3 separate regions of the Homo sapiens genome follow, and regions 1 and 3 are each linked to region 2. The links are contacts of gene promoters, found by promoter capture Hi-C in human tissues and cell types (Jung and others, 2019). All regions are on one chromosome and are shown on one strand. The core of a region is centred on a gene start or on the middle of the fragment in contact, and the rest is flanking DNA. Distances in the headings are between cores, read along the strand shown.

The links. Contacts are between HindIII fragments. The study calls those that stand out against the background at their distance.
Region 1: a fragment that was not itself captured here is called in contact with the fragment with the promoter of SLC25A33 in region 2 in 2 of the 25 tissues and cell types used here (bladder and thymus).
Region 3: a contact is called between a fragment that was not itself captured here and the fragment with the promoter of SLC25A33 in region 2, in 2 of the 25 tissues and cell types used here (lymphoblastoid cells and mesenchymal stem cells).

What each region holds. Positions count from the first base shown.
Region 1 is chr1:9,328,098-9,332,936 of GRCh38, reverse strand. The region is part of intron 1 of SPSB1 (splA/ryanodine receptor domain and SOCS box containing 1); the gene reads right to left. Among named protein-coding and RNA genes, the nearest start is that of SPSB1, 38 kb to the right of the region's middle. The HindIII fragment of the contact is 8,123 bases long and covers 1-4,839 here.
Region 2 is chr1:9,537,323-9,542,378 of GRCh38, reverse strand. It overlaps SLC25A33 (solute carrier family 25 member 33), which reads right to left and starts at 2,914. Exons shown (of 7, transcript NM_032315.3): 1 at 2,632-2,914. The coding sequence starts at 2,687. RefSeq lists enhancers at 534-1,033, 2,059-2,188, 2,855-3,149 and silencers at 2,259-2,618, 2,639-3,158. The HindIII fragment of the contact is 17,899 bases long and covers 1-5,056 here.
Region 3 is chr1:9,308,038-9,312,738 of GRCh38, reverse strand. The region is part of intron 1 of SPSB1 (splA/ryanodine receptor domain and SOCS box containing 1); the gene reads right to left. Among named protein-coding and RNA genes, the nearest start is that of SPSB1, 17 kb to the right of the region's middle. The HindIII fragment of the contact is 5,086 bases long and covers 1-4,697 here.

The sequences.
Region 1 (4,839 bases), core at 1,145-3,644, 210 kb after region 2:
CCCTCTCCTGCTGCCACCACACTTCCTGTGGTCTCCGTCACCCTCTACGCACTCAGGCTGCAGAAGCAGCAAGCTGACCTCAGGCCTAGACCCTGCAGGGAAAATGCTCTTCCAAGATCATGACCTCCTAATCGATAAATTGAACGGGCCCAAAAAACAAGCATCCTCTCTCTACCTCTCAACTGTATCTGAAAATACCACCATGCCCTTGACCTGAAACGCTCCTAGTTTTGTGACAGTATCTGACTCACTCTCTAAGGTTCTGTCTCAGCTCCTCCGCCTGTTCTTCCTGCTCCTTACACACAGATGTTTTTGAGGGTCTCTCCCTCCACAGGACCTCCCTCCGTGGGATCCTTTGCTCTCATGGCTCCAGGGAGTGTCTGCCTGTGAACCTGACGTGTCCACCAAATATCATCTCCCCAGCAGTGACCCTGCTCCCACTCATACATCCCTTGTAGACTCAAATGGCCCCCTCCTGGCCTCTACAATGCTGCCAATTTCTATCATCAACCTCTAGTTCACCCAGATTCAAACCCCTCATCTCCCTCAATTCCTCCTCTTCTTGGCTTCCCACATTAGCGCCAAACATTGTAAATTGCTGCCCCCATAGTTGCTGAATCCCACCTTCACTCTCACTGTTTAAGTCATCACTTGCAAGGCCACTGCAAGAGTCTCCAAGTCCCTTAGATCTCAGCCCACTCAAACAAATCTTCCTAAAACGCTCTCATTGAGATTTTTTTTTTTTTTTGGTAGAGGTGGGGTCTCACTATGTTGCCCAGGCTATTCTCAAACTTCTGGCCTCAAGCAATCCTCCCACCTTGGCCTCCCAAAGTGCTGGGATTTATAGGCATCAGCCACCTCGTCTGGCCAAGGCTTTTTTAAATTTTGAAAATCTGTAATTCAAACACGTACAAAAGAGTCACATATTTTCAACACTCAAACTGTCAACAGTTTGGCACATTTGTTTTTGGTCCTTTTATTACACAATAGTCAAATAGCCAGAGGACTGGAACAGACAATGCAAAGAAAAAGTAAATGCAAACAGTAAGTAAACTTGTAGGAAAAGAAGCTCAACCTCCCATGGAGACAAAAGGACATAAAAGAAAAGCAGTAATGAGATCGCACGTTGCACCCTCCAGATTGCTACAGAGTCAATACAGAGATGGTGCCTCCTGTCTACACACAGGAAGCGGAGAGCAAGTACCAACGTGGCTGGTGGGATCTGAATCCGGCAGCTTCGGGGAAATGAATGGCAACTGATCCAACAATTCCACCCCTGGTGCGTGAGCCCATAAGAATGAGTGCCGGCTAGGCACGGTGACTCACGCCTGTAATCCCAGCAGTTTGGGAGGCTAAGGCAGTGGATCAACTGAGGTCAGGAGTTCAAGACCAGCCTGGTCAACATGATGAAACCCCGTTTCTACTAAAAATACAAAAAATTAGTCGGGCATGGTGGCGCATGCCTGTAATCCCAGCTACCCAGGAGGCAGAGGCAGGAGAATCGCTTGAACCCAGGAGGCAGAGGTTACAGTGAGCCAAGATCGTACCACTGTACTCCAGCCTGGGCAACAAGAGTGAAACTCCACCTCAAAAAAAAAAAAAAAAAAAAAAAAAACAAGAGCACCAGTAGCAGAAGGAGATCCATAACGGGTATTTATGACAGAGGTGCGGCCACTTCCTGCCACTCCAAATCGAGTGCACAGTCATTGACAAAGGTCACTTAGGCAGACCACTCTGATATGTTTGCACCATGAACCGTTGTTACACAGCAATTAAAAAGACGAGGTAGAACCACATCAGTGAGCCTGGAGACACTTCCACAAGCATTCAGCGGGGAGAGCACGACAGAATATGAAAGGAGAGCCCATTCTAATAAAATAATGGCATCCCCAAAGATGCAGACATACAGGTCAGTGCAGGCAGGGAGGTATGGAACTACTCTGGGTATATCATCCTTCAATAAAAGATTTAGGATTTTTTTTTAAGTATGTAAAAAAAAAAGACGCAGAAAATTACAAGTGTTGGCAAGGATGTGGAGAAACCGGAACCCTTGGGTATCACTGATGGAAACGCAAAATGGCACAGCCGCTGGACACAGTAGGGTGGTTCCTCAAACTCAAAATGATCGTACGATCCGGTAATGTACTCAACGCTACTGAACTGCACGTCTTAAATGGTTAAGATGGTAAATTTTAGGTTTTTGTATGTTTTACCACGATTAAAAAAAAAAAAGTTCAGAAGAACATGCTCCAGTCTAACATCAGTTTGGGAAGGGAGAGAAAAAGGAGGGGAGGAAAGGAAGAGGACAGGCAAACCCAAAATACTCCCCCAAACGTGTCGGGTGAAGTTAGGGATACGTGTGTCCAGATCACAAGGTCCAGCTGGCAGGATGTTACTGTGGTTCCCTTGGGGTGGTAGGAGTAAGGAGACTGGCAAATCTTTATTATTATTATTATTATTGTTATTATTTTGAGACAGAATTTAGCTCCTGTCGCCCAGGCTGGAGCGCAGTGACACAATCTTGGCTCACTGCAACCTCCGCCTCCCGGGTTCAAGCGATTCTCCTGCCTCAGCCTCCTGAGTAGTAGAGATGCACCACCACGCCCGACTAATTTTGTATTTTGTATTTTTAGTAGAGACGGGGTTTCACCGTGTTGCCCAGGCTGGTCTCAAACTCCTGACCTCAGGTGATCCGCCCGCCTCAGTCTCCCAAAGTGCTGGGATTACAGGCGTGAGCCACCGTGCCCAGCCTGGTACATCTTTATGTGTACATATCAGGTGTCATTCAGATTCTTCTCGATGAGCAAGCACCTAGCAATTATTTACGCCACTGATCTTTGACAAACTACAGTGAGAAGAGATGCCTTGTGTCCTCAGAATGGAGGTAAGAGACCCATGCAGATGGTCAGGTTTCCCTTTTGCTCTTTGCAAAAATGTGCAGTCACCTGCTCCTGGGCCACTCTGAACCCGCTGTCCTGTCATCCACAGCAATTTTCTCCCTGGACTCTAGGAATCAGTCCCAGAAAAGATTCCAAAGGCCTCATAGTATCCAAGTTTTGAGAAGAAATGTCTGCAGAGTCACGTTACCCACAGAACGCTCTCTTCTACCTCCACACCCAAGCCTACCATCCCCACGGCCCCACCGCCATGTGTCCGATGCCGAGATCTGGGAAGTCTCCTGGACTCCAGCACTAACTTCTTTCTTTCTTTTCTCTTTTTTTTTTTTTTTTTTGTTGTTGTTTTTGAAATGAGGTCTCACTCTGTCACCCAGGCTGGAGTGCAGTGGTGTGATCTCGGCTCACTGCAACCTCCCCATCCTGGTTCAAGGGATTCTCCTGCCTCAGCCTCCTGAGTAGCTGGGACTACAGGCGCATGCCACTGTGCCTAATTTTTGCATTTTTTGTAGAGACGGGGTTTCATTGTGTTGGCCAGGCTGTCCAGCACTAACTTCTGATGGGTGGCCATGCCCATCTTCCCAAAGGCTCTCTTCCCTACTCCCTTCCTCGGATCCTCTCACCTGACCTACCCACCACCGGGTGTCACCTCCCCTGACCTCTCCATCACTGCCCTCCAGCCCTTGGCATGAAGTTCCTGGACTGAGACACTCACACACGTCCACCCATCCGCCTGTCCACCTGTCCACCCATCCACCCATCCGGGATCTCACCTTTCCTCCCTCTCCAGCTGCATTTCCCCCCACCCACAAACCCTCAACCGGCTGTGCTCGGGCCCCATGCAGACTGAACCACCTGCAGTGCCCCTCACACTGCTTCATACAACTGCCCTTAGGTGTCTTCAATTCTCCCCCTTGGGAGGCTGTCCCCGCCACCCTGTCCCCCACGCGAACTCCTACACATCTGCCAGAGCTCCAGCAAGTCTTTCTGCCCTTTACTGGCAAATTCCAGCAAATGCAGGGCCCGCCCCTAGTAGGACAGAGCAGTGGTTTTCAACCTGGGTGATTTTACTACCCTCCCTCCTTCACCCCAGCGTACCCTGGGAGATTTGGCAATGTCTGGAGACACATGTGGGGCTCACAAGTTGGGGTGGCGTCTGGTGGGTGGGGGCCAGGGATATTGCTAAACGCCCAGCCACGCCCGACACAAGCCTCACATCAACAATTCCCCTGCCCTATGTCAACAGTGCCATGTTGGGAAGCCCCAGCGCAGAGTGAGCTTCAGGTGAAAAGACGCAGGGTATTCCTGGGACAAAACCATCTTCACGTGCCCAGAAGCACCACCTAGGACCCAACACCTGTGACCCTGTGTCAACTCCATGGCTCTCCCAGGCCAGAGGGAGGCAGTGGGTGGGGCGTTGGTGCTCACCCCAACACACTCATCAGCCTCTGGGTTACCCCGAACGAGATGTTTACCTCTCTGGGCCTTAGAGTCCCTGTTTATAAAACGAAGCATTGAAAGAAATCAGCTCTTCCCCCGAAGTGGCCTTGACGGATTCTTAAGGCATTTGAAATCATGTCTGAGCTGGGTTAGGAAACATCATATCCCCTCCTAGAGAGTCACAAACGCATCAGCATCTTAAAGGCTCTGAGAAGTCCCGCAGGACAGAAACGCAAGGTTCTGCTGAACTCTAGCAGTTCCCAAACTTGAAGAAAAGGGACATTCTTCCTGGAGTGCATCTTTGCACAACATCATGAGGGATGACAGTTTGGAGGACCTCCGAATGTCTTTGGGCTCAGCTGTTTCAAGATTCCATTGATGGGCCAGGCCCTGCCTCCTCCCTCAGCCCCTGTACTGAATCCTCCACACAGCCACGTTCGTCTGGCTCTATAGGAGGGGGTGTAAAGGTGTGTGGCAGAGCTGAGATGTTTACTGTGTGAGGTAA
Region 2 (5,056 bases), core at 1,665-4,164:
AAACTTGTTAAATACAATGGCTTCAGGCGCCACCCTAATGAACTACCTACATCTTAATCAAGCAGGAGAGCTGTGCTGGCCACTGCAGATGTACTCCATCACAAGGTATAAGGCTGGTGCCCTAGGAGGAGAATCTGGCAGCCAGAGGGCACAGGGAAGGGTACAGAGGGAGATTCAACAAGACAGGGCCATCCATCTCACAGTGAGCCTCAACAGAGGCTGCTCCAGCATGCAACTCTCCTGGTTTGGAATACAAAGAAAAATTGTAAAAGACCACCTCACTGGCCGGGCGCAGTGGCTCATGCCTGCAATCCCAGCACTTTGGGAGGCCGAGGTGGGCAGAGGGGGTCAGGAGATCGAGACCATCCTGGCTAACACGGTTAAACCCCGTCTCTACTAAAAATATACAAAATTAGCCGGGCGTGGTGGCGGGCACCTGTAGTCCCAGCTATTCGGGAGGCTGAGGCGGGAGAATGGCGTGAACCCAGGAGGCGGAGCTTGCAGTGAGCCGAGATGGCGCCACTGCACTCCAGCCTGGGAGACAGAGCAAGACTCCGTCTGAAAAAAAACAAAAAGCAAAAACCCACCTCACTAAAAACAGTAAGTCAAAATCACTGAGCAGAAATTCCTTTTTTTTTTTTTTTTAAATGATCCTTCTTGGCTTAAAAAACGTGTGAGACAAAAAAAAAAATGGCCAAGTTGTTTAAAATTCCCAAGAAAGACAAATTTATATAGAGTGGCTTAATTTAAGAATGCTTCCCCCTTGTGTTACTCTGAAAGGAAGTCTCTGCCGGGCATGGTGGCTCACGCCTGTAATCCCAGCAATTTGGGAGGCCAAGGTGGGCCATCACTTGAGGTCAGGAGTGCCAGCCTGGCCAACATGGCAAAACTCCGCCTCTTAGCAAAAACACAAAAAAATTAGCTGGGCGTGGCCGGGCGCAGTGGCTCACACTTGTAATCCCAGCACTTTGGGAGGCCGAGGCGGGCGGATCACGAGGTCAGGAGATCGAGACCATCCTGGCTAACACGGTGAAACCCCGTCTCTACTAAAAATACAAAAAGCTGGGCGTAGTGGCGGGTGCCTGTAGTCCCAGCTACTCGGGAGGCTGAGACAGGAGAATGGCGTGAACCCGGGAGGCGGAGCTTGCAGTGAGCTGAGATGGCGCCAGTGCACTCCAGCCTGGGCTACAGAGCGAAACTCCGTCTCAAAAAAAAAAAAAGAAAAAAAAAATTAGCCAGGCTTGGTGGCGGGGCCTGTAATCCCAGCTACTCGGGAGGCTGAGGCAGGAGAATCGCCTGAATCCGGGAGGCGGAAGTTGCAGTGAGCCCAAAGATCGCACCACTGCACTCCAGCCTGGGCGACAGAGGAAGACTCCCTCTCAAAAAAAAAAAGGAAGTCTCAATGGAGACATGGAGGGAAGGGTTGCAAGGGAATGAATGACAGGGAAGAGATGAATGAGAAACTCTTCCAATCTATGAAGACCCACCGAAGTTTTTGGTTAAAGTAACCTGGTGACTGCCCACAATACAAGTACAAAAAAAGCTCAGGGACGCTTTCATCAGTCATCTTCCAAGATAAGTTTCTCAACCATTGTTTGTTGTAAGGAACATATCCAGGTAGGAATCCAGGCTGCAACTACTCAAGCCAAGATGATCATCCCAGAATAAACTATTTTATGCAAAATATCCTACACTCAAAAATTCCTGTGCCAGGCCGATGAGGTCCTCAAATTAATACTCCAAATATCTGTAAGACTCCGAAAGGACCCCAAGCCACCGGCTGTGATAAAGGAAAAAAGAAAATTACTAATACTCAAAAATATTTTACCTTCTATTCTCGGCGGGAGGTGACAAGGGGAGGTGGCGAGGGGTACCATCTCCCTTCCTAACCGCAGAACTCAACCTCCTAAAAATGCATTGTCTCCGCTGGAAAAAAGGTGCCTGACCATAGACCTAATGCAGCTTTCAAAACAAGGAACACCTTACAATTCTGCGGTCTCTGGCGTTGGAAGCGTCTACCAGCCGGCGAGAAGTGTCTCAACACACCTTCCAGACCTCATATGAGTTCGGGTCCCTGGCTTAGCCACCCCGCGTGTGGCCGCAAGCATCACCGTTCACCAGCACCACCCAGGCCTTGCTGACGTCCAACGTCCGCAGACCTTTTTGCCCGTCCGGATGACCTCCCGCGCTGCCCTGAGGAACCTCGGGCACACCCGAGCATCAGCGATCCTACCACGGGCTCTGAGGCGCTGCGCTTCGGGAGAGGCCCCAGGAGAAGGGGGCGGGGGAGGGGGGGCCGCGCCACAGCGTCCAGGCTGGACCGCCGCCGAGCACCACTCACCGGCCACTGACTCTTCAGAATGGGGAAAAGCTGGGGACGCCGCGGGGAGGACGGGCGGCGGGGCACAGCCGCCCTCGGGGCTGCGGTCAGGACGTAGGGGTGAGGAAGGCCCGACCCCCTCCCTCGGCCCTGCCCACCAGTCCCCGACGCCGGGACTTCCTCCTCCCGAGCGCCGGCGCCGTAGCCCGGGGAAGGCCGGTAACCGCCGCGGGAGGCTGGGGCCGCGCCCGGGGCGAAGGCCGAGGGGACCGCAGGCGGTGGGGCGCGCGCGGCTGGGCCCGGGAACTCACCCGCCGGCGAAGAGGTGAAGCAGCGTGTTCTCCTTCTGCTGGCCGCCCGTCGCCATGGCCGCGCCGGCTCCGCGGCCCGTCGCCGCCCGGTGGCGAGAGCGCGTGGCGGCTCGAGGGATGCGCGAGGTCGCCGGGTCTTGTCTCCCCGCTGCCCTCAGGGGGCTGCCGGCAACGCCTCCATGCGCGCGCGGGCTCCAACGCCCGGCTCTGCTCGGCCCGCGCCTTCCGCGGCGTGGCCGCCGGCGCCTCACCGGCCTCTGCGGCGCGAGCCCGGCGGGGAGCTAGAGCCCGGCGCGCGGCCGTCACGTGGCGGGGGCCGGACCGTGACGTCACGGGCGCGCGAGTCTGGGGCGGGGCGTGACGGGGGTGTGGACCCAAATTTCGAGCGCTCATTGGTTAGGACGCGGATGTGGGCGGGGAGGTTGCGCAGTTCTGGGGCGGAGCCAGCCCCGAGCGAATGACTGGGGAGAGGGGCTGGCCTAGGCCGGAGCGTGGAGGCAGTGGAAACTGGCTGTGACTGACTGGTCCTCGCTCCTCAGAGAAGCCTCGCGAGGCCCTAGGCCTTGCCTTATTTTAAAAGTTTACTTTGTGATATTTACGTGTGCAAAAGGTGTACAAATTACGTGTTACATCTCACACCTCTGTACTCACCACCCCGTTTAGGGAAACAAAAACATAATCTAAAAATCTATAATCTAAACAGCCTTAGATAATCAGTGAGGCCCTCACGGTGGCTCACGCCTGCAATCTCAACACTTTGGGAGGCCGAGGCGGGCGGGCGGATCGCCTGAAGCCAGGAGTTACAGACCAACCTGTCCAAGACGGCGAAACCGTGTCTCTACTAGAAATACAAAAGTTAGCCGGACGAGGCGGCGCACCCCTGTCATCCCAGCTACTTGGGTGGCTGAGGCTGGATAATCGCTTGAGCCCGGGAGGCGGGGGCTGCAGTGAGCCAAGATCTTGCCACTGCACTCCAGCCTGGACGACAAAGCGAGACTCTGTCTCAAATAATTAATAATCATTATCATTATGTGGATTTTTGATCTCCCTATAAGTAGTAGTATATGCTGCGTATATTTTGCAGTATGCTTTTTGCTTCTTTTCTGATCATCTCCAGCCCAGACCTAGATATCCAAACTGCTTCTCTCAGCCTATGTCACTGGGTCATTGTCATACTCAACCTGACATCTTCTAATCTCCAGGTCTCCCCCAGATGGAGACTTTCCTGGCCGCCTTTGCAGCGCAGTCTGTCACACGACTATAGAACCAGGGCTTCTGCAGTTAGTTTGTTGATTTATTTAAGTTGTCCTTCCCATACAGGAATGTAAGCTTCAGGAGAGCAGGGACCTTATTTCTTTTGTTCACAGTTGTTCCTGACACAGTACCTGCCACCTAGTAATGCCCAAGGAGCTAATGAATAAAGGTCCCAAATTGAACTTATCATTCTTCCCCTCCCCCAAACCTGCTCTACCTCTATTTCCTGTCCTGGCAGTGACACCACTGACTGCACAGGCACCAGTGCCAGAAGCTTTCCTGTTACCTTGGACTATGTCTCTCTGTCTGTCTCTCTCTCAGCAGACCACCATTCACCTGCAGAACGTACCAACCCTTTCTCTTCCGTCTCTCAGAGCTCCGGAAAGCTGTACCTTGACCAGAACAAGCAGTTAGATGTCCTGTGTGTAAACATAGAGAGCTTAAGTAGGAGGGAATTGTGTGGAAACGTGGGAGCTAGCCAGCCAATCTGTATTTGATTGCTGGGACTCTTTAAATAAAAACAGCTCTTAGGAGCAGTCCTCCAAAATGCAAATACAGTGGTTACTATTAAAGCCATTGCTCCCAGGCCTAGGAGAAGGGGAAGCCATACTAGGGCATGAGATATCTGAGAAAAAGAAGTAAAGAAAACCCAGCACAGTGGCCCACTCCTGTCATCCCAGCACTTTGGGAGGCTGAGAAGAGTGGATGACTTGAGTCTAGTAGCTCAAGACCAGCCTGGATAACGTGGCAAAACCCTGTCTCTACAAAAGAAAAAAAAAAGTAAAAATAAATAATTTTTTATTTTTATTATATGTTTTTTTTAATTTTTATTTATTTATTTTGAGATGGAGTCTTGCTCTGTCACCCAGGCTGGAGTGCAGTGGCACGATCTCGTCTCACTGCAACCTCTGCCTCCCGGGTTCAAGCAATTCTCCTGCCTCAGCCTCCTGAGTAGCTGGGATTACAGGCATGCACCACCACACTGGGCTAATTTTTGTATTTTTAGTAGAGACAGGGTTTCACCATGTTGGTCAGGCTGGTCTCAAACTCCTGACCTCGTGATCCGCCCACCTCAGCCTCCCAGAGTGCTGGGGTTACAGGCGTGAGTCACCGCACCTGGCCTATTATTTTAAGAGGAGGCCTCATTCTGTCACCCAGGCTGGAGTGCAGT
Region 3 (4,701 bases), core at 905-3,404, 230 kb after region 2:
CCCAAAGAAAACCAAAACCACGCCAATTTGATGAGATGAGTCCATGCACAATCATCCAATCATTGCAAAATTCAGCTCATGAGCTGCTCGTCCAACAAAACTCCGTGCTGGCACCTGACTGTGTTACCATCAGCACTCAGGAAACTTGGGAGAATGCGGCCCTCCCCCAGTCCCCACCGCACAGCATGCTGAGGTAGGGAGAAAAAATGAATTCTAGGACGGTGTCCACGGCTGCCTGACCACATGTGTGCACTAATAATCATCAATGTGTACATTTACAATAGGCGAACTGCGTGGCGTGTGCATAATACCTCCACAGGGCTGTTACGAAAGAACCCTGTGTTAGCGCTCACTGCCTACAATATTCAGGAAGGTCAGGGACTCCCTGCTTTGTCTCATAAAAAACCAGACAGACCGGACACAATGGCTCGTGCCTGTAATCCCAGAGCTTTGGGAGGCCAAGTTGGGAAGACTGCTTGAGCCCAGGACGGGTTCGAGACCAACCTGAGCAACATAGCACTGCAGCCTGGGTGACAGAGCGAGATTCTGCCTCGAAAAAAATTAAAAAATTAAAAAATTAAAATAAAATAAAAATTAGCCAAGCGTGGTGGCATGTGTCTGTGGTCCCAGCTACTCAGGAGGCTGAGGAGGGAGGATCACTTGAGGAGTTTGAGGTGCAGTGAGCTATGATCACGCCACTGCACTCCAGCCTGGGTGACAGAGACAGGCAGGGCCAACGGTTACACCAAGACAAAAACGTCATCTGCATGAGGTCTCCTGTATCTCAATACTTAGCCACTGGCTTAAGGAGAGAAAACCAGTCCCATTTCCCTGCTTTGTCTGAGCATAGCTATTTCATCTGGCAGAGGATGAAACAGGGCTCAGTGCCACCAAGAAAATTCATACCCCCCAGGGATGCACCAAACCCACCTTTTCAGGGAGAAAATAGAGGTCCCATCCCAAACACACAAAACGTGGTAGATAAAGCCACGTTTCACGTCTACCACTCGGCAACCCCCGGCAGAAACATCCTGGGTGCTGACCCTTATCTATTCCTGCTCTTTGCCAGAAGCAGCGGGAGTTAAATCTTCTACAGAATGCTCCCCTGCCCCATAAAAAAAAGCCTAGAGATAAGAGTGAGACTGCTCTGGCTCAAGCGTTGGTTCAAGTCTGATCCTTTTCCAGGACTTTGATGCTATTTCTAAGCCCGATCGGTCTTTCCAGAAAAGAAGATGTCCCATGCATGGTGAAGAGACCAGCGAATATTTGTTGGTGCTGGGTGGTGTGGGTATGGGGTTCAGGACACCAGTCTCTCTACTCTGCCCTGTGTTTGAAATTTTCCATTATAAAAATCTCCATAAATGCAGACAGCAAAGCAAAACCTCAGCCACGCCGAGACCCATCAGGGGGAAGAAAGAAACCCCAGTCATGGGTCAGGACTCGGCTCAGACGCAGCCTCCTGGGTCGGCCCTGTCTGGGCATAGCTCTCTCAGCATAGGCACTGTGACAGCCAGGACAGAGCGGGCATTCAGGGAATACTGGCTGCATGATGAAGGCATTAAAAAAAAAAAAAAAAAACCCTTTATCCTGCGCTGTCTAGACACCCCTGAGAGTGGCGTGGGGGTAAGGACTTGGCTTTCAGGGAGCCTGGGAGGCTAGAGGCGGGAGAAGAAAGGATCTGTTCACACTGACCAGCTCCAAATTGGCCCGATAGGATACAATTAGAAGAAGGGGGGAAAATATTTATCTTTTTGAACATTCCATTTTTCCAAAGATGGCGAAGTGTTTTTAGAAGAACCCTGACATGTACGTATAATTTATATATTACGGAATTGGAATAAATTAAGCACGCTGTGGCCCCCTTAGGATGACTTCCCCAAGCTTCATAAATGCAAGGCAACCTTTCTCATTAGCACTTTCTTCAAATCTCCAAATGAGAAGACCCTCAGACAGGAGAAACACTTGAGAATCTCCCCCAACCCCCATCTGCAGAGGAATGAGGTGACAAGGTCCTGCTGCCCAGGTCTCTCTTTTTTTTTTTTTAAGACAAGGTCTAACTCCCATTGCCCAGGCTGTAGTGCAGTGGTGCAATCACAACTCACTGCAGCCTCGACCTCCCAAACTCAAGTGATCCTCCTGCCTCAGCCTCCAGAGTAGCTGGGATCACAGGCATGCACCATCACATCCAGCTAATTTTTCTGTATTTTTAGTAGAGACGGGGTTTCACCATGTTGCCCAGGCTGGTCAGGAACTCCAGGCCTCAAGTGATCTGCCTGCCTCGGCCTCCCAAAGTGCTGGGATTACAGGCATGAGCTACTGTGCCCGGCCCTTTAGGTCTTCTTGATCTATCCAGGAGCTCATCCCTTAGAAATCCAGGAAGGCGCCCCAAGAACCTCACATGAGATGCCTTTCCCCTCACAGAAATTACCGTTGTCTGAATCCTGTGAATCTTGAGTTTGCTTGAAGCTTCCTGGGATCAACCCAAGAGGCAAGTCCCACCAGCACGGGCCCTAGACTCTGTGGCCTTCCCACGGCAGGTGCAGGAGCATCATCACAGATGGCCCCTAGACTCTGTGGCCTTCCCACGGCAGGTGCAGAGGCATCATCACAGATGGCCCCTAGACTCTGTGGCCTTCCCACGGCAGGTGCAGAGGCATCATCACAGGCCCCTCACCATCCCCCACCTGAGGAGAGCTTTAGGGCAACAGGCAACACTACCCCAGCCAGAAGCCCAGGACCTCGGGCAGACCCACAGCCAAACCCCCAAGAAGACAGATAAGAGCTCCAGGCACAGCCAAACAAAATGACCAGGAAGTTGAATTGGGTCTCCCAAGGGAGACTGGTCAGGGCCCCCAGTTACCACTATTTTATTCTACTCTACTCTACTGTATTTATTTGAGACAAAGTCACACACTATTGCCCAGGCTGGAGTGCAATGGTGCAGTCTTGGCTCACTGCAAACTCTGCCTCCTGGGTTCAAGCGATTCTCCTGCCTCAGCCTCCCAAGTAGTGGGATTATGGGCATGCACCACCATCCCCGACTAATTTTTATATTTTTAGTAGAGACGGGGTTTCACTGTGTTGGTCAGGCTGGTCTCAAACTCCTGACCTCGGGTGATCCACCCGTCTCGGCCTCCCAAAGTGCTGAGATTACAGGCGTGAGCCACTGTGCCTGGCCTGATTACCACGTTTTAAATGCAAGGGAGAGCCTAGGCAACATGGCGAGACCCCATCTCTACAAAAACTTTTAAAAATTAGCCAGGTATGGTGACACATACCTATAATTCCCGCTACTCAGGATGCTGAGGTGGGAAGATCGCTTGAGCCCAGGAGTTCGAGGCTGCAGTGAGCTGTGACCGCACCACTGCACTCCAGCCTGGGTGACAGAGAGAGAATCTGTCACTCACACACACACACACACACACACACACACACACTCTCTCTCTCTCTCTCTCACACTCTCTCTCTCTCTCTCTCCGCAGGGGAGCACACAGGAATTGAGGGGGGATCTAGCTTATCTGCACATCTCAGGAACAACTTTGGAGGTGAATGGCATGGAAGTGCAAGGACACCCCATGCCCACCGACGACCCCTGGGCCTGGCATTTGATGCCCTCCCTGCTACACAGCTCTGCAGCCTTCTCCCGGTCCTCCTCATGGCAGTCAATCTCCTGGTCCCCTACCATGAAACCCCCCAGCCTAGAACAAACCCTCCTGACAGTCTCAGGAGGCCCTCTGTACCCACGCAGGCCTGGTGCCCGCCCAGCCCCTGGCAGGGAGCTCATGTTTCCTGCATACACCTGCTGGGCCACAGGCTCTCAGGGGCCTGGAGGTGCATCACACGCCTCCCAAGCTGTGCTTGGCAATAGCAGGTGCCCAATCAACAGGACTGGCACGTTCCACTGTCGCAGTAGAAAAAAACACAGGCTGTGGGGTCAGGCCCACCTTCCAGCATCCAGGGAGTCATGCCACTTCCTGCAACGCAGAAAACCTCTCTAAAAAAAAAGTCCTCCTTTCTCATCTGTAAACCGGGAGGTAACATCTAACTCACAGGACTGTTTAAGGGGTTAAAAACCCATCTACAGTGGCAAGCATAGCGCCTGGCTCATGGCACACATTCAATCAATACATGTGAAGACTATTTCAGGCAGAATCACACTCACAGCAGATGGGATCTGAGACACCCTAAACTAAATGCCGGCCCCAGCATGGGAGGGAAAAGGCAGGAACAAGTTGTCGGGAGCTCCAACAAGGAAGGGGCCAGTGGTCCCCCAGTTGATGACAGCTTAGGTTTTCTCTCGTGCCTGAGGCAACCCCACCCATCTGCTTTCTAGAAACTGTCCCCCGACCCACAGTCAGGGCACCGTGGCTCCGGGGGCCCTGGGTATGCAGGACCTACTGCTGGGTATGCAGGACCTGGGTATCCATGACCCCACCAAGGATGGGCCCAGGGCAAATGGCCCCCTTGCTAGGTGCCACCAGTCAGGGCAACTGCAGCACTGCCCCAACAGCACTGGCAAGAAGCTCCTAAGCACACTTCTGTCATCCTCTCTGTCAAATGAGAGGCAGTCCACCCCCTTTGGGCCTGACATGTCTTGGAAAACACTGGAAGGAATGGAATTAAGACAGTAACTTGCTAAAGCTGAAGTTCTGGTCCCAGACGGGTTAACAGGATTTGGAAGGGGCACCAAATTGCAATACT